Regions from separate parts of the Homo sapiens genome. Here all the other regions are linked to region 2. The links are contacts of gene promoters, found by promoter capture Hi-C in blood cells and fetal thymus (Javierre and others, 2016). All regions are on one chromosome and are shown on one strand. Each heading gives the region's core, a stretch centred on a gene start or on the middle of the fragment in contact. The rest is flanking DNA. Distances are from core to core; before and after follow the strand shown. Region 1 overlaps C9orf72 (C9orf72-SMCR8 complex subunit). Region 2 holds the start of CAAP1 (caspase activity and apoptosis inhibitor 1). Region 3 overlaps MOB3B (MOB kinase activator 3B). Region 4 holds the start of IFNK (interferon kappa).

Evidence for each region. The method cuts DNA at HindIII sites, captures the fragments that hold promoters and counts their contacts. A CHiCAGO score of 5 or more calls a contact.
Region 1: a contact is called between a fragment that was not itself captured here and the fragment with the promoter of CAAP1 in region 2, in 5 of 17 cell types (activated CD4 T cells, naive B cells, total CD4 T cells and 2 more). The highest score is 6.7, in activated CD4 T cells.
Region 3: a fragment that was not itself captured here is called in contact with the fragment with the promoter of CAAP1 in region 2 in 1 of 17 cell types (erythroblasts); the score reaches 5.0 in erythroblasts.
Region 4: a contact is called between a fragment that was not itself captured here and the fragment with the promoter of CAAP1 in region 2, in 4 of 17 cell types (total B cells, activated CD4 T cells, naive B cells and 1 more). The highest score is 8.2, in total B cells.

The regions. Positions count from the first base shown.
Region 1 is chr9:27,544,993-27,549,266 of GRCh38, reverse strand. C9orf72 (C9orf72-SMCR8 complex subunit) reads left to right here. Exons shown (of 11, transcript NM_018325.5): 10 at 601-710; 11 at 845-2,721. The coding sequence ends at 1,031. Among named protein-coding and RNA genes, the nearest start is that of MOB3B, 17 kb to the right of the region's middle. The HindIII fragment of the contact is 3,146 bases long and covers 1-2,863 here.
Region 2 is chr9:26,890,145-26,894,203 of GRCh38, reverse strand. It overlaps CAAP1 (caspase activity and apoptosis inhibitor 1), which reads left to right and starts at 1,402. Exons shown (of 6, transcript NM_024828.4): 1 at 1,402-1,791. The coding sequence starts at 1,489. RefSeq lists enhancers at 1,173-1,242, 844-1,423, 1,373-1,592, 1,673-1,852, 1,424-2,003. The HindIII fragment of the contact is 2,677 bases long and covers 938-3,614 here.
Region 3 is chr9:27,467,455-27,471,635 of GRCh38, reverse strand. All of the region lies in intron 1 of MOB3B (MOB kinase activator 3B), which reads left to right. Among named protein-coding and RNA genes, the nearest start is that of IFNK, 55 kb to the left of the region's middle. The HindIII fragment of the contact is 996 bases long and covers 2,278-3,273 here.
Region 4 is chr9:27,520,594-27,524,968 of GRCh38, reverse strand. The region is part of intron 1 of MOB3B (MOB kinase activator 3B); the gene reads left to right. It overlaps IFNK (interferon kappa), which reads right to left and starts at 679. Exons shown (of 2, transcript NM_020124.3): 1 at 8-679. The coding sequence starts at 632. The coding sequence ends at 9. The HindIII fragment of the contact is 1,268 bases long and covers 1,204-2,471 here.

The sequences.
Region 1 (4,274 bases), core at 41-2,540, 660 kb before region 2:
TAATACGAAATAACTTATGTATGAGTTTTAAAAGTGAAGTAAACATGGATGTATTCTGAAGTAGAATGCAAAATTTGAATGCATTTTTAAAGATAAATTAGAAAACTTCTAAAAACTGTCAGATTGTCTGGGCCTGGTGGCTTATGCCTGTAATCCCAGCACTTTGGGAGTCCGAGGTGGGTGGATCACAAGGTCAGGAGATCGAGACCATCCTGCCAACATGGTGAAACCCCGTCTCTACTAAGTATACAAAAATTAGCTGGGCGTGGCAGCGTGTGCCTGTAATCCCAGCTACCTGGGAGGCTGAGGCAGGAGAATCGCTTGAACCCAGGAGGTGTAGGTTGCAGTGAGTCAAGATCGCGCCACTGCACTTTAGCCTGGTGACAGAGCTAGACTCCGTCTCAAAAAAAAAAAAAAATATCAGATTGTTCCTACACCTAGTGCTTCTATACCACACTCCTGTTAGGGGGCATCAGTGGAAATGGTTAAGGAGATGTTTAGTGTGTATTGTCTGCCAAGCACTGTCAACACTGTCATAGAAACTTCTGTACGAGTAGAATGTGAGCAAATTATGTGTTGAAATGGTTCCTCTCCCTGCAGGTCTTTCAGCTGAAACCTGGCTTATCTCTCAGAAGTACTTTCCTTGCACAGTTTCTACTTGTCCTTCACAGAAAAGCCTTGACACTAATAAAATATATAGAAGACGATACGTGAGTAAAACTCCTACACGGAAGAAAAACCTTTGTACATTGTTTTTTTGTTTTGTTTCCTTTGTACATTTTCTATATCATAATTTTTGCGCTTCTTTTTTTTTTTTTTTTTTTTTTTTTTCCATTATTTTTAGGCAGAAGGGAAAAAAGCCCTTTAAATCTCTTCGGAACCTGAAGATAGACCTTGATTTAACAGCAGAGGGCGATCTTAACATAATAATGGCTCTGGCTGAGAAAATTAAACCAGGCCTACACTCTTTTATCTTTGGAAGACCTTTCTACACTAGTGTGCAAGAACGAGATGTTCTAATGACTTTTTAAATGTGTAACTTAATAAGCCTATTCCATCACAATCATGATCGCTGGTAAAGTAGCTCAGTGGTGTGGGGAAACGTTCCCCTGGATCATACTCCAGAATTCTGCTCTCAGCAATTGCAGTTAAGTAAGTTACACTACAGTTCTCACAAGAGCCTGTGAGGGGATGTCAGGTGCATCATTACATTGGGTGTCTCTTTTCCTAGATTTATGCTTTTGGGATACAGACCTATGTTTACAATATAATAAATATTATTGCTATCTTTTAAAGATATAATAATAGGATGTAAACTTGACCACAACTACTGTTTTTTTGAAATACATGATTCATGGTTTACATGTGTCAAGGTGAAATCTGAGTTGGCTTTTACAGATAGTTGACTTTCTATCTTTTGGCATTCTTTGGTGTGTAGAATTACTGTAATACTTCTGCAATCAACTGAAAACTAGAGCCTTTAAATGATTTCAATTCCACAGAAAGAAAGTGAGCTTGAACATAGGATGAGCTTTAGAAAGAAAATTGATCAAGCAGATGTTTAATTGGAATTGATTATTAGATCCTACTTTGTGGATTTAGTCCCTGGGATTCAGTCTGTAGAAATGTCTAATAGTTCTCTATAGTCCTTGTTCCTGGTGAACCACAGTTAGGGTGTTTTGTTTATTTTATTGTTCTTGCTATTGTTGATATTCTATGTAGTTGAGCTCTGTAAAAGGAAATTGTATTTTATGTTTTAGTAATTGTTGCCAACTTTTTAAATTAATTTTCATTATTTTTGAGCCAAATTGAAATGTGCACCTCCTGTGCCTTTTTTCTCCTTAGAAAATCTAATTACTTGGAACAAGTTCAGATTTCACTGGTCAGTCATTTTCATCTTGTTTTCTTCTTGCTAAGTCTTACCATGTACCTGCTTTGGCAATCATTGCAACTCTGAGATTATAAAATGCCTTAGAGAATATACTAACTAATAAGATCTTTTTTTCAGAAACAGAAAATAGTTCCTTGAGTACTTCCTTCTTGCATTTCTGCCTATGTTTTTGAAGTTGTTGCTGTTTGCCTGCAATAGGCTATAAGGAATAGCAGGAGAAATTTTACTGAAGTGCTGTTTTCCTAGGTGCTACTTTGGCAGAGCTAAGTTATCTTTTGTTTTCTTAATGCGTTTGGACCATTTTGCTGGCTATAAAATAACTGATTAATATAATTCTAACACAATGTTGACATTGTAGTTACACAAACACAAATAAATATTTTATTTAAAATTCTGGAAGTAATATAAAAGGGAAAATATATTTATAAGAAAGGGATAAAGGTAATAGAGCCCTTCTGCCCCCCACCCACCAAATTTACACAACAAAATGACATGTTCGAATGTGAAAGGTCATAATAGCTTTCCCATCATGAATCAGAAAGATGTGGACAGCTTGATGTTTTAGACAACCACTGAACTAGATGACTGTTGTACTGTAGCTCAGTCATTTAAAAAATATATAAATACTACCTTGTAGTGTCCCATACTGTGTTTTTTACATGGTAGATTCTTATTTAAGTGCTAACTGGTTATTTTCTTTGGCTGGTTTATTGTACTGTTATACAGAATGTAAGTTGTACAGTGAAATAAGTTATTAAAGCATGTGTAAACATTGTTATATATCTTTTCTCCTAAATGGAGAATTTTGAATAAAATATATTTGAAATTTTGCCTCTTTCAGTTGTTCATTCAGAAAAAAATACTATGATATTTGAAGACTGATCAGCTTCTGTTCAGCTGACAGTCATGCTGGATCTAAACTTTTTTTAAAATTAATTTTGTCTTTTCAAAGAAAAAATATTTAAAGAAGCTTTATAATATAATCTTATGTTAAAAAAACTTTCTGCTTAACTCTCTGGATTTCATTTTGATTTTTCAAATTATATATTAATATTTCAAATGTAAAATACTATTTAGATAAATTGTTTTTAAACATTCTTATTATTATAATATTAATATAACCTAAACTGAAGTTATTCATCCCAGGTATCTAATACATGTATCCAAAGTAAAAATCCAAGGAATCTGAACACTTTCATCTGCAAAGCTAGGAATAGGTTTGACATTTTCACTCCAAGAAAAAGTTTTTTTTTGAAAATAGAATAGTTGGGATGAGAGGTTTCTTTAAAAGAAGACTAACTGATCACATTACTATGATTCTCAAAGAAGAAACCAAAACTTCATATAATACTATAAAGTAAATATAAAATAGTTCCTTCTATAGTATATTTCTATAATGCTACAGTTTAAACAGATCACTCTTATATAATACTATTTTGATTTTGATGTAGAATTGCACAAATTGATATTTCTCCTATGATCTGCAGGGTATAGCTTAAAGTAACAAAAACAGTCAACCACCTCCATTTAACACACAGTAACACTATGGGACTAGTTTTATTACTTCCATTTTACAAATGAGGAAACTAAAGCTTAAAGATGTGTAATACACCGCCCAAGGTCACACAGCTGGTAAAGGTGGATTTCATCCCAGACAGTTACAGTCATTGCCATGGGCACAGCTCCTAACTTAGTAACTCCATGTAACTGGTACTCAGTGTAGCTGAATTGAAAGGAGAGTAAGGAAGCAGGTTTTACAGGTCTACTTGCACTATTCAGAGCCCGAGTGTGAATCCCTGCTGTGCTGCTTGGAGAAGTTACTTAACCTATGCAAGGTTCATTTTGTAAATATTGGAAATGGAGTGATAATACGTACTTCACCAGAGGATTTAATGAGACCTTATACGATCCTTAGTTCAGTACCTGACTAGTGCTTCATAAATGCTTTTTCATCCAATCTGACAATCTCCAGCTTGTAATTGGGGCATTTAGAACATTTAATATGATTATTGGCATGGTAGGTTAAAGCTGTCATCTTGCTGTTTTCTATTTGTTCTTTTTGTTTTCTCCTTACTTTTGGATTTTTTTATTCTACTATGTCTTTTCTATTGTCTTATTAACTATACTCTTTGATTTATTTTAGTGGTTGTTTTAGGGTTATACCTCTTTCTAATTTACCAGTTTATAACCAGTTTATATACTACTTGACATATAGCTTAAGAAACTTACTGTTGTTGTCTTTTTGCTGTTATGGTCTTAACGTTTTTATTTCTACAAACATTATAAACTCCACACTTTATTGTTTTTTAATTTTACTTATACAGTCAATTATCTTTTAAAGATATTTAAATATAAACATTCAAAACACCCCAATTAAAAGTCA
Region 2 (4,059 bases), core at 153-2,652:
AGGAAAAGTTGGTTAACGTTTAGCTATGCTTCTACTAAAAGCTTATCTTTTGTCACAAATCCAGCAATTTGGCAGGGCACGATGGCTCACGCCTGTAATCCCAGCACTTTGGGAGGCTGAGGCGGGTGGATCACCTGAGGTCGGGAGTTCGAGACCAGCCTGACCAACATGGAGAAACCCCTTGTCTACTAAAAATACAAAATTAGCCCTGCATGGTGGCGCATGCCTGTAGTCCCAGCTACTCAGGAGGCTGAGGCAGGAGAAATGCTTGAACCCGGGAGGCGGAGGTTGCAGTGAGCCGAGATTGTGCCATTGCACTCCAGCCTGGGCAACGAGAGTGAAACTCCGTCTCAAAAAAAAAAAAAAGAAAAAAGAAAAAATCTAGCAATTTAGTTTTATTAAAATTATGATGGTTTCAGGGACACAATTCATAACAGGTTTATAAATGTAACATGTTATTAATTTTATGTGTTTTTCCTATCTGTGAACACAACACTCTCAATCCTTTCAGGTATGACTCCAATGAGTGTGATACTTAACGGAACTCCTGGGAACACAGTGGGCTCAGCCCCAGGATTTACCTTACAAGGCCAATTTAAGAGTGGGGCCTGGGGGAAGACAGTTTTCCTAGGGCTGGAAGTGTCCCTATTTATTAACCCTAGGCTGGTTTTAGGCATTTAAGTAGTTGTTGAATGACTGAGACAAATAGGAGACAAAGAGAAGGGAAGCTTCTTTAATTGCTTCTTACCCCAGGGAAAGGCACAGAATTACTACCACCCAGCTAGCTTTGCCCCAGGCTCTACCTTTTTCCCTCAGTGGCTAAAGGCCCCTGCTGAAACGACAAAGACCTTGGTTCACGTTTTAAGTGTTCTAGCTCCCTTGTCTTAAAATCTGCCTTCTATTTAGATTACATCCACCCATAAAATCTCATAAAGCTTTGACCCATTCTCAATTTTCAAAAACGAACTCAAGCTCTACTTGTCCATGTCAGACTCTACGCAAGAAATACCTAATTTGCCCAGGTGATGAGGAAAATGAGATGGAACAACTTTTCCCTATTCTCTTTATTGTCATAGCGTTGTTAATATCTTAAGATTTGGAGGTAAACGGAAATGGAGAATCAGCAACTATACTTCAACCTTATTGTAAACAGACAAAACACTAACAATAAAAAGTTTTGAAGTTAAAAGGACGTAAGTTCCACCTTCTATCCTTTGTAGAGATATAAAAACAAAACAAAACAAACTCTGACTAGACAGGCTACCCGCTACACACTCAAATCGACCTCCGCGACCGGAGGGGGAAGCGCAACTGGTTATGGCAACCCCCCTGCCACCCCGGCCCATAACGCTTCACCACGTTCTGTGCCACGGCCGGAAGTGACGCATAACCTGCGACGCCAGTGCCTGCCGCCCACGGCCGCAGGAGTCGGGCTTCGGTCGCACCAGAGACAGCGGACTTTCCTCCGATGGTTGCAGCAGAGGGATCATGACGGGGAAAAAGTCCTCCCGGGAGAAACGGCGCAAACGTAGCAGTCAGGAGGCGGCCGCAGCGCTCGCGGCCCCGGACATCGTACCCGCGTTGGCCAGCGGCAGCAGTGGAAGCACTAGCGGCTGCGGGAGCGCCGGGGGCTGCGGGAGCGTCAGCTGCTGTGGGAACGCCAATTTTAGTGGAAGTGTCACCGGCGGTGGGAGCGGCGGCAGCTGTTGGGGCGGGAGCAGCGTGGAGCGCAGCGAGCGCCGGAAGCGGAGGAGTACCGACTCTTCCAGCGTCTCGGGCTCCTTGCAGCAGGTGCGTGCGCGCCCCTCTGGCCGCTTCCTGGAGCTGCTGCTTTTTCGGAAGAAGTCGGGCTTCCAGAGGGATGGGGCGCAGGCTGGAGCTCACTGCTAGCGCGGCAATCTCAAGGTCGTCCGTCCTTGAGGTTCATGTTCCTACCTAAGTCCTGGTGAGCCCCACACTCCCATCCGTGTCTTGAATCTTGAACTTCAAGTTTCTGGATTTCCTGATCACTTTTTTTTTAATTTATTTTTTAAACTCTTGGCTCCTTCCACTCCTATGGTTTCACTCTGCCGGAAGAATACGAGTTGGAAGCTAGCCTTCATTTCCCTTGCGAGCCAAACACTTCTCCCTTCGTCTTCACCTTTTCGTAGATATGGTTAACTCCGCATTAGAGATAAGAAAATTGAGGCCCAAAGAAGTTAAACTTTACCCACGGTCACAGAGTTTGTTAATAGCTCCTAGGTTTGAATCCAAATATCTGACTACAAAAGCCATGTTCTTTATACGCCACCAGTCTGCCAAGAGAACGCCGTTTTAAAAAAGTTCATAATTTGTTTGAAAACAAATGAATGAATAGGTACTTTAAATTCATTCAATGAGGAAATAAAGGGAAAGCGTCAAGTCCCTTTTCTTGCCCCTCCATTAGTATTTTGATACGCGGCCTCTTTTAATCACTCCTCGTGAGATACGTGTTTTTAAGTTCCTACACTTAAGCTGTATTGTGTTATTCCCGCTGTTGAATACCTGCATTGTTGTGATAGGCTTCTTTATATACGTGGTTTGTTATTTTTACTGACTGCCTGGTATTGTATTATATTTTTCTGATATTTGGGTGTGCAGGTTTTTTTGTATTGTTGTGACTACAATACAAACACCTTTATGTATATATCTCCTACAAGAGTTATGTTGGGAGAGAGTGTGAGAACTGAAATTCCTGGGTCAAAGTTTATGCTATTAAAAACTTATGAATGCCACCAAATGCTTTCCAAATGAGACTTTACAGATTTATAGTCCAAACAGTATATATATAAGAATACCTATTTCTGAGATTCTTAACTAGCTTTTGATGACATTTTGATGGCATTTTTTAAAAAAATTGCCAGACTAGTGGGTCAAATTAATAGTTTGTTTTAATTTTTATTTTCCTTATTAGTGAGATTGAACATTTTAATATTTTTATTTGCCATTTGATTTCTTCTTATGTAATTTTCTGTACATATCCTCTGCTCATTATTCTCTTTGGTAGAGTAGAAACAGTTTATGTAGAGATTTTATCAGGTGGTTTTCTGGCATTCTGTTGAGATGATCACATACTTTTTCTCCTTTAGTCAGATAATGTAATTTGTTGATAAGTTAGTTGATGTTGAACAGTCTTTGGAGTCTTGGGACAAGTGCTGTTTGGTTTGTTGAGTTTGTTGTACTTGGCTGGAATTCAGTATTTTTACTTTCATGTATGTGTTTCTTTTTTTTTGTTTTTTTTGAGACGGAGTCTCGCTCTGTTGCCCAGGCCGGAGTGCAGTGGCGTGATCCCGGCTCACTGCAAGCTCCGCCTCCCGGGTTCAGGCCATTCCCCTGCCTCAGCCTCCCGAGTAGCTGGGACTGCAGGCGCCCGCCACGACGCCCAGCTAATTTTTTGTATTTTCAGTAGAGACGGGGTTTCACCGTGTTAGCCAGGATGGTCTTGATCTCCTGACCTCGTGATCCACCCGTCTCGGCCTCCCAAAGTGCTGGGATTACAGGCGTGAGCCACCGTGCCCGGCCAACTTTTATGTATATGTTTCTAAATTAGATCAGACTGTAGTTTTTATTTTTGTAATGGATTGAATTAGGAAGCTTTGTGTTTTTTTGGTGTGTTCTAGAATGGTTTATATTTTCTTCTCAAATATTTGTCAGAAGTATCTGGGTCTAGTGGAGTTTTTTAGAGTGATTTTTTAAGACACTCTTTAAAAAAATTATTTAATATAGATCTATTCAGTTTTCCCACCCCTTCTAGATTCAGTTTTGGATATTACCATTCTTATTTTAAATAGTTTCCTTTTTTTTTTTCTTTTTTTGAGATAGGCTCTCACTGTGTCGCCCAGGCTGGAGTGCAGTGGCACCATCTCAGCCCACTGCAACCTCCGCCTGCCAGGTTCAAGTAATTGTCCTGGCTCAGTCTCCTGAGTAGCTGGGATTACAGGTGCCCGCCACCATGGCCAGCTAATTTTTGTATTTTTAATAGAGGTAAGGTTTTCACCATGTTGGTCAGGCTGGTTTCCAACTCCTGACCTCAGGTGATCC
Region 3 (4,181 bases), core at 1,526-4,025, 580 kb before region 2:
GAGATGGATATTTTATCTCCATTTTACAGAAATGGAAGAAGAGGAAGCTAACGTTGAGCAATGTGATATAGTAAGCTCCAGAGCCCACACTCTAGAAATGGTAGATTTGGGAGTCAAAATCGGGCAGTCTGATCTCAGATCCATTTACTTAACGACCAGTCTATACAACACAGTGACCAAGAGCCACAAAGCGCAGGGGTGGTTCATTGAACTAGCCTCTCCACAGGTGGTGTAGACCAGTAGGGGCAGGGCCATGTTGTATATTCCCAATAATGATTCAGGTTAATTCTCCTTTCCCCCAAGGACTTTTTCTGCCATTCTTACTGCTGGAAATACAACTCTTCAGATGACCACTTTTGTCTCCTGCCTATTCGCCTCAGGAAATGACTTTTGGCCCATGGACCACTGGATATGCCAGGCCAGGCATGTCAGACTCCCTGGCTCAGGGAGCTCTTAAATCCTGGAGAGCAGCAGAGTCCACACATCCACTGGTGAGGGGTGGGATGCTAGAGTCTGCATTTTAAACTTGCACCCCAGGTGCAAGTGATCTTGGTCTTTCTGCCATTTCCGAGTGTCCCCAGGAAACCCAGAGGGAACTTACTAGTTAGTCCGTGGACAGATGGTTCAGGGTGAGAAGGGGTTGTATTTTTTCCTTCAGCAGCCACCACCTTCTACCAGAGCCGCCAGAGCTCAAAAGGGGAAAAGTGAAAGAGAAAAAAACAAACAAACAAAAGATAAAAGGCCAGGGGGAGGCAGTGCTGGGGGAAGAGTATAGAACTCAATAAGAACAAGTCAAACCCATAAATATTTGCTGAGAAAAGCAAGGGTTCCAAATGAGTGCGGCAGGGATGGCAGAAACAAAGCCAGATTAGGGAAGGGTCAGGAGAGAAGGGGAAGGGGTAGGCTGAACCTCCACCAGAGGTGGCAGCTTGTGTTTGAAGCCTGCTTTGATGGGCCCACAGGGCTAACAGATGGGTGGGTGGGCCCTGATTATAGATGGGCCAGAAGTTGGGGGTGAGCTGTGAGAATAACCAACAAATCGGACTGTTTAGATACAAAGGAAGGGCTACAGATTCAGAGCTTTGGAGCAAAGGAGAGACAAGAGTCACTTCCTAACAGCACTGTAGGGAGAAGTCGCCTGGAGGCTGGAGGATTATGGCAGGCGGAAGGCAAAAGAAAGGGCAGGGGCAGGGATTTAGCCACTGACAAGTGCAGTCAGCATTAGGGGTCTGGGGAGTTGTCCGATTGATCAAGCGAAACCTGAAAGTTCTCAGAGGTGTTTCAGTGGCTGTTGAGAGGAGTAGACACCCTGCTTCAGCTGCAGAAGAGATAAATAATTTTTATTTATTTTTATAAAATTGAGGGCCTGCATAAAACTTCATTTGGAGGAACAAAGGAGCTATGTTGCTTTAAAAGGCTTAAAAATCACCAGGAATATGAATAATATCTATATCTACATCTCTCCATAGATCTAAAAAGACAGTTAAGTTGGGGTAGTTTTCTTTTCTTTTTTTTTTTTTTCTTTTAAGAGACAGGGTCTCACTCTGTGCCCATGCTGGAATGCAGTGACATGATTATAGTTCATTGTGGCCTCGAACTCCTAGGCTCATGTGATCCTCCTCCTGCCTCAGCCTCCCAGATAGCTGGGACCATAGGTGTGTGCCACCGTGCCAGGCTAATTTTGTTTTGTTTTGTTTTGCAGAGATGGCTGGGGGAGGGGGAAGGTGTTGCTTTGTTGCCCAGGCTGGTCTCTAATTCCTGGCTTCAAGCGATCCTCCTGCCTTGGCTTCCCAAAGTGCTGAAATTCTAGGTGTCAGCTACCACGCCTGGCACGAAAAGGGAGGGGGGAAGTTTTGAAGGGCCATTAAGTGTCAGACTTGCTGAAGTATTAAACAGATCCATTGCCTAGTGGAAAGAACACAGGCACTGAGGTTGAGGCTTTGTTTTCAGCCCCAGGTCTGTCCTAACTGTGAACCTTTAAATATTCACTTCAGTTTTCTGGGCACTAGCTGTTTGTTTTTGTTTTTAATAAATTAAGAGGCTCTATTGAATTAACTGATGTTCAGAAGTTCTTCCTGCTGTACAATCCTGTCAGCCATGACCTTGCTATCAGGCCTCCCTAGCAGATGCACACGGAATGGGTAGCAGGATCAAAGTTCGAGGAAAATTAATGTCGTGGTGTTGTGTGGGATGATTGAGGGAGACAGGTTAGGGGCCAGGATGCTGTCACTGAAGGGTACAAAGGCAACAAGAGTGGATGCAACAGAGACAGAAGCTTGGGCATGGACACCAAAGTCACAGAAGTTGAGTTTTCACTAAAGGAGGTGAGATGATACATTTTTTTTCTCGTATTAGAAAAAAAATTCCCAGCCAGGCACTGTGACTCATCCCTGTAATCCCAGCATCTAGGGAGGCTGAGGCAGGAGGACTGCTTGAGCCCAGGATTTCAAGACCAGCCTGGGCAACATGGCAAGACCCCCATCTCTACAAAAAAAGAAAAATTCCCAAGTTGATTAGCTTGCTCTCTTCCCCATTATTTTTTCCTCTGAGGTATATTTTTAAAACTTATTTTTTAAACAAAGCACAAAGGTAAAGGTCTTTGCGTGGTATTGCAAAGATCTTTACAAAGTTCTACCATGACTTTTTAAACATTGTTTTAAGCCAGTGGGCATGCTTCCAAAGGAGCTGACTTTTCACTGAATGCTAGAAAATGAAAACATGGGAGCTGTTTAGATTGGCCTGGGAAACATCATGTCCAGTAGCCACTGTTGATCTTTGCATGAAGTAGTTCTGTTTTCTGAAAAGATTCCTTTTGTCCATTGTCTCATTATGATTATGGGGGCCTAGTCCTCTCAACTGGAGAAAGAACTGTTTATCTGTGCGGTATTTGATTAACAATCATTTAGATACACAGTTTAACCACAAAAAGTTACTGAGTTCCTGTTTCTGCTGGGTCCTGTGTTAGGTACCAGGGATGCAGTGAAGTCTAGGGTGTGCTCCCAACCCTCATAAACTGATGGAGGGGCCAGACATGTGAGCAAAGAAATACAGCACAGTATGTGGTCCTGGGGCATTCGCATCAGAGATGTGCATGCAAGGTGCACACGATGACCAGCCATCCCGTCCTTCTTGCTCCTTCTTTTGGTACCTTGTTCCCTCTGCTTTACCAGGAGTTGAAGTTAAGCCAGAGAGAAGTTTGAGGAAATCGAGGCTGGGCAAGGGAGAGGCCTTATCTGAGTGGATAGAAAGTTTTTCAGTTCCCTGGAGAAAGCTTCTGATAATCATGTTCCCAGACAGTAGCCACATACAGGGGCATGGGACTGTCAGGCCTAAAGCTCACTGTCAATTGTGGAGGATTCAGAAGCACTTCATAGATGATGGGGGACTCTGTTCTGAGCAGTCTGTCTCTGTGTGTCTGCCACTGAGCAGTAACTGGTACAAATGCACCCTATGACTAGGTTTTCTTTCTTAGCTGAGAAATCTCTTGAGAAGGCTATGCATTTCTGGTGTGTAGACAGACTTTCTGCAGATGAGTAAGTTATGTCTTAAACAGAGTTCTTGTTGAACTAATGTCACGAAGAGTCTCTGCTAACAAAAACAGCTAACTTTGCATAGCCAAGCCACTCTGCACAACTTAACAATGTTAGTTCTCCAATAGAGCCCTAATAAACAAGTCACACCACTCTTCCCTATGTGGCTTCAAAGAAGTTGATAGTAACAATACAACAACAAAAACAAAAATCAACTTTGTTTCTTATGGAAGCCAGACTGTTAACCAATGGGCCTGTTAACTCTAAACTCTGGATTTGCCCACCCTTTCCCATGTAGCACTGGTGAGAGCAGACCAATTCCATTCATAAAGGCAGAAAGCTGGGGAAGCAGCAGGTAGCACACTTGAAAGCAGGCACTTCGCAGGAGGAAAAAAGGTCAGGCTGAGCCAGCTGAGCATGTGCGGTTTGCCAACTAAGTGAATCCATCCCTCCACTTGCCCTGGGGCGATGTTAGTAAAAGGACATAGAGAGGATAGTAGGATGCATAGGGAAAATTCTTCCTCATCCAAACCACGAGTGGGGAAATGGTGCTTCCCTCTGAGGTGCCTCAAGATTTTACACTTTTTGAGGGTCATGTGCTTAGGTCTTGTGGGGAAGAAGTCAAAGAAAGAGCACATTATGGTTGGGACT
Region 4 (4,375 bases), core at 588-3,087, 630 kb before region 2:
AATATACCTTATTTCCTCCTGAATAGAGCTGTAAATTTGTAAAAGTAATACAAACATCTTCTGATTTCCACTCGGACAATCTCCCAGGCACAGTCACTGTATTTCTTTTCTTTCAGGAAATTGTCTATCCTGTGGAAATATCTCCTCAGTTCCAGGCTGCTCAGCTGGGGGACCCTGGCTTCTGAGGGTTTCATCTCATTCTCTTTCATTTCTTTCATGTCTTCATTTTCATTCTTGTCTTCCTCCAAGCATTGGTTCAGGTACTCTGCTTGCTGATCAAGTCCTATTTGGATTTGTTTGAGGTGTCTCTCTTTCCAATATTTGAAGGTGTGTTGGCTGAAGATGTTGAAGGCCTGTAGGGACATTTCATAGAAGGCCTTCTTGATGTCCCTCTTCATAGGTTGGGTGTATTGCAGAAACTCTTGGGGCAACTCAAAAGCTATGTTTTCTCGTAGACATTCTACAGGAAATGAATTGCTCATACTACTCAGATGTCTCAGATTTTGCCAGGTGACTCTTCTCAGGTGAACGTTCAGTAAGTTACAGTCCAGGGATAGGGTGCCAGCAATGAATATACCCATAAGGATCTCAAGCCACAAACACTTTTGAATCATATCAGGTTTGGTGCTCATTTTTTTTGCAAGCTAAAAAATCCAGAAGATGTGTATATGACAATGATGTTTTGAGTTTTCCTTCATGTGCCTTTATATACCTGAATATCTTCAGCAGGAGGAGTTTTCTCATTCGTCATTTCACAGTTAACCAAGGTTGCGGCCCCTTTCCTTTGCCTCTGAGGCTTTTTTTTTTTTTTTTTTTTTACTTCGGGTGACTATGCCGACTTTGGAAGTGATAACTTTTTTTTTTCCCTGAAAAATGAGCAAAGAATTACCATCGTGTTACCTTAAATGCCTGGATGATCCATCCCAGCACTAAGGAATCATCATAACAAGACTGATGCAGGGTATTTCAGAAAGCCAAAAGCTGTGAGTCCATGCACTCACTCACTCACTCACTCACCCAAATCTATTACATAAGAGGGAGTGATCCTTCATGAAAATATATTTTTTGTACCTGGTGCTATAGCCAAACATCCTGTCTCATTGAGTTAATCATAGACATTGACCAAATGACTGTGATTATTTGATTGCTAGGTCACCAGAGCACAGTATAGTTTAGGTTTTTCCAATTTTGTTAAATTAAGCTTCTATATTTGGATATTTTCTCTTTTTGATTTTTCTGGATCTCCAAAAAGATGAAGAATAGAGCTGGCACTTACTAAGTAGGAGACTAAGTTGGCTTGGTTTTCTGTTGCATTAGAAAATGTTGATAATCTCTAAATATCCTTTTCTTCAGTTAAATCCATCCTGGACTTAGCCTTCCATATGCCTCTGATACCTTTCTTAAAAGTCCTGGAGGGGGTTTTATATTTGAGAATATCTTTCTGCCTCATTAACTTCTCTCTTGTAGTATCATTTTCTTTTCTTTTCTTTTCTTTTTTTTTTTTGGTGCAGTTTAGGCAGTATTTTTAAACTTTTGCTTGATTGCTTGATTATTATATCTTCTTGCCTGGTGGTTCTGGATTCTGTAAAGGCTTTTGTTTGCTCCTGTGTTTGTTGTGCACTGAGGAGGTATGTGAGTAGGAAGTCACCCATTTAGCTAAGTGAATTCCTAGCTGGACCAATGTTACTGTGGTAATGATGGCTATCTATTGTTTATGGTTTTTACTTTGTTTGACCAAATAACCTTCCTCTGATTATGGTTAAAGCAAATGGATTCTTTTCTCCAGGAAAATAAAATGGATTGTCATTTTAAAAAGGTAGCTTATTATATCTTCTCAAGAAAAAAAAGATATACATTAATTTGCAATTAAGTCATTGTAAAATGGTAAATAGCCACAGTTCCACAAACATGGCAGACTTTGATTGAAAAGTTGGCTTAAAAAGTTCTTGTCTAAATCAGTTGACTGCACCAAAGGCTAATTGTGGGTAAGTGGGATTTCTTAAAATCCTGGCTTTTAGGAAAGGTTTCTTACGGAAAAAAATATATATATATATATTATTCTATTTGTTCCATCTACATAAATTCTTATTTCATGGGCAGATTTCTTGGGCTGACCAAATTTGGAAAACATTAAGAAAACAAGCCCTTTTATATAGCGTTATAAATTGACACAACCTTCCTAGAGAGGAAAGTGGTGATATGGATCAAAAGCCTTAAAAATGTACATAATATTTGACTCAGCGATTGATCCTCTAGGAACTGATTCCCCAGAAATAATGATGATGCCCTTAAAGACTTAGCTGTAAGGAAGTTTGTCACAGCAAAAAATGGAAAACAATTTTAATGTTCAGCAATAAATACTTAGTTAAGTAAGCCATCAGTAGAAAACATATATGTAAGCACTAAAAATTATGTGTGGGAATATATTTGGTCACTTGGATAGATACACTTTGTAGTTTAAAAAACAAGCTTATATTTGCATATAGAGGCTGATACCACTTTTGTTAAATATAGACATATGCATATATATATATATATATATATATATGAAAAAATGTCTTGATATATATGCAAAAATTTTGAGTCACTATCTCTAACTGGAAGAATAATGGGTGGTTTTTATTTTTATATTTTTATTTACCTGGATTTTTTAAGTTTTCTGTGGTGAGCAAGTATTTCTTTTTCTTTCTTTCTTTCTTTTCTTTTTTTTTTTTTTTTTTTTTTTTGTGAGACGGGGTCTTGCTCTGTCTCCAGGCTGGAGTGCAGTGGCGCGATCTCGGCTCACTGCAACCTCCGCCTCCCGGGTTCAAGCGATTCTCCTGCCTCAGCCTCACAAGTAGCTGGGATTACAGGCACGCGTCACCATGTCTCGTTAATTTTTTTGTATTTTAGTAGAGACAGGGTTTCACCATGTTGGCGACGACGGTCTCGATCTCCTGACCTCATGATCCGACCGCCTCGGCCTCCCAAAGTGCTGGGATTACAGGCGTGAGCCACTGTACCTGGCCAAGTATTTCTTATTTAATAAGAGAAGGCTGTTTTTAAAAGAAGATACATTAAAAAAGGAAAAATTATTATACATCTGAAATGGGATCAATACTATTTTATTTGTTTAAACATTTCTACTCTAGAGTATTTTGAAAGAAAATGTGGATTCTCCCTAAGGCTCAGTTCCAATCAGTTGATATGAATAACACACAGTATGTGGGAATATACTATTCTTGCAGCCATGTTTATACATGTATATATACTTATAATTACACACACACACACACACACATTCTATAAAGTGCAAAGCCTCTCTGAGGGCCATGGCTTTTTACATACCTCATATAACTTCTCTACCTAAAACTTCTTGAACTGTTCCAATTAGAACTGCTTGTTCCCCATTTTGCTTTTACGATGCCTTGGCCTCCTTAACCATGGGTTTTAAAAAACAGATAATTGTATAAGTGTTGGTCTCCCAATTTAGTGCATTCCCCTCTTCCCTGAAATTGCCCGTGGTGCTTAGTATACTTTTCACTAGTTTGAGACAGTTCAATGATACTAACCAAGCTAAAAGATTGTTCAGTTCTGCTCATAGGTGTTGGAGATGGCTGCACATTTGGCTATTGTCATTCGTCTTGAAGTTGCCTGTATTTTCAGCCATGCACAGTTTTGTCATCTTTAGCCCTCTCACCCCAAATTTCCTCCCTTTACTATAATTCCATATTATATTCTCATTTATCTAAAAATGTACTTTTGTGTTTATGACATTTCCGTCACTGGCCTAGGTCCTGAAGAAGGAGGAATAAGTTGTAGTGCATGATCTCGAGGAGGCTGTGGTTGAAGAAGCAGGCATGTTCTGAGTGTTTTAGGCAGGAGGAGTAATTCTTAGGGTTCCCCAAGAGCAAGGACTCCATTCCCCATGTTCTGTAAACGTTAATAGATGCTGATATTGACAATATTCATGACAAAGAAGGAAAGATGGTTGGCATACACATCTGTCCTTCTCCCACCATTAGGATTGCCTGTCTTAGCAGATAAAAATATAGAACACTCATGCAATATTTGGGACATACCTACTAAAAAGTCATTCATTGTTTTTCTGAAATTCAGATTTAACTGGGTGTCTTTATTTTATCTGACAACCCTATCCACCATGCAAGCTCCCACTGACCTCTCACAGCAGAGCTCAGACGTGACATCCCCTGCAGAGAGCCATTCCTCTGCTACTCTTCCTCCTCCTGCAGAGTTACATTTGATTGCATTTCTCTATGCTGGCTTTACATGTGCACATACCCGTAACAAGTGTACATGGCAAAGAGGTCACCTGTCATACTAAAACAAAATAATACTGACACACACAAACATACACACACTTGTACACTCACAT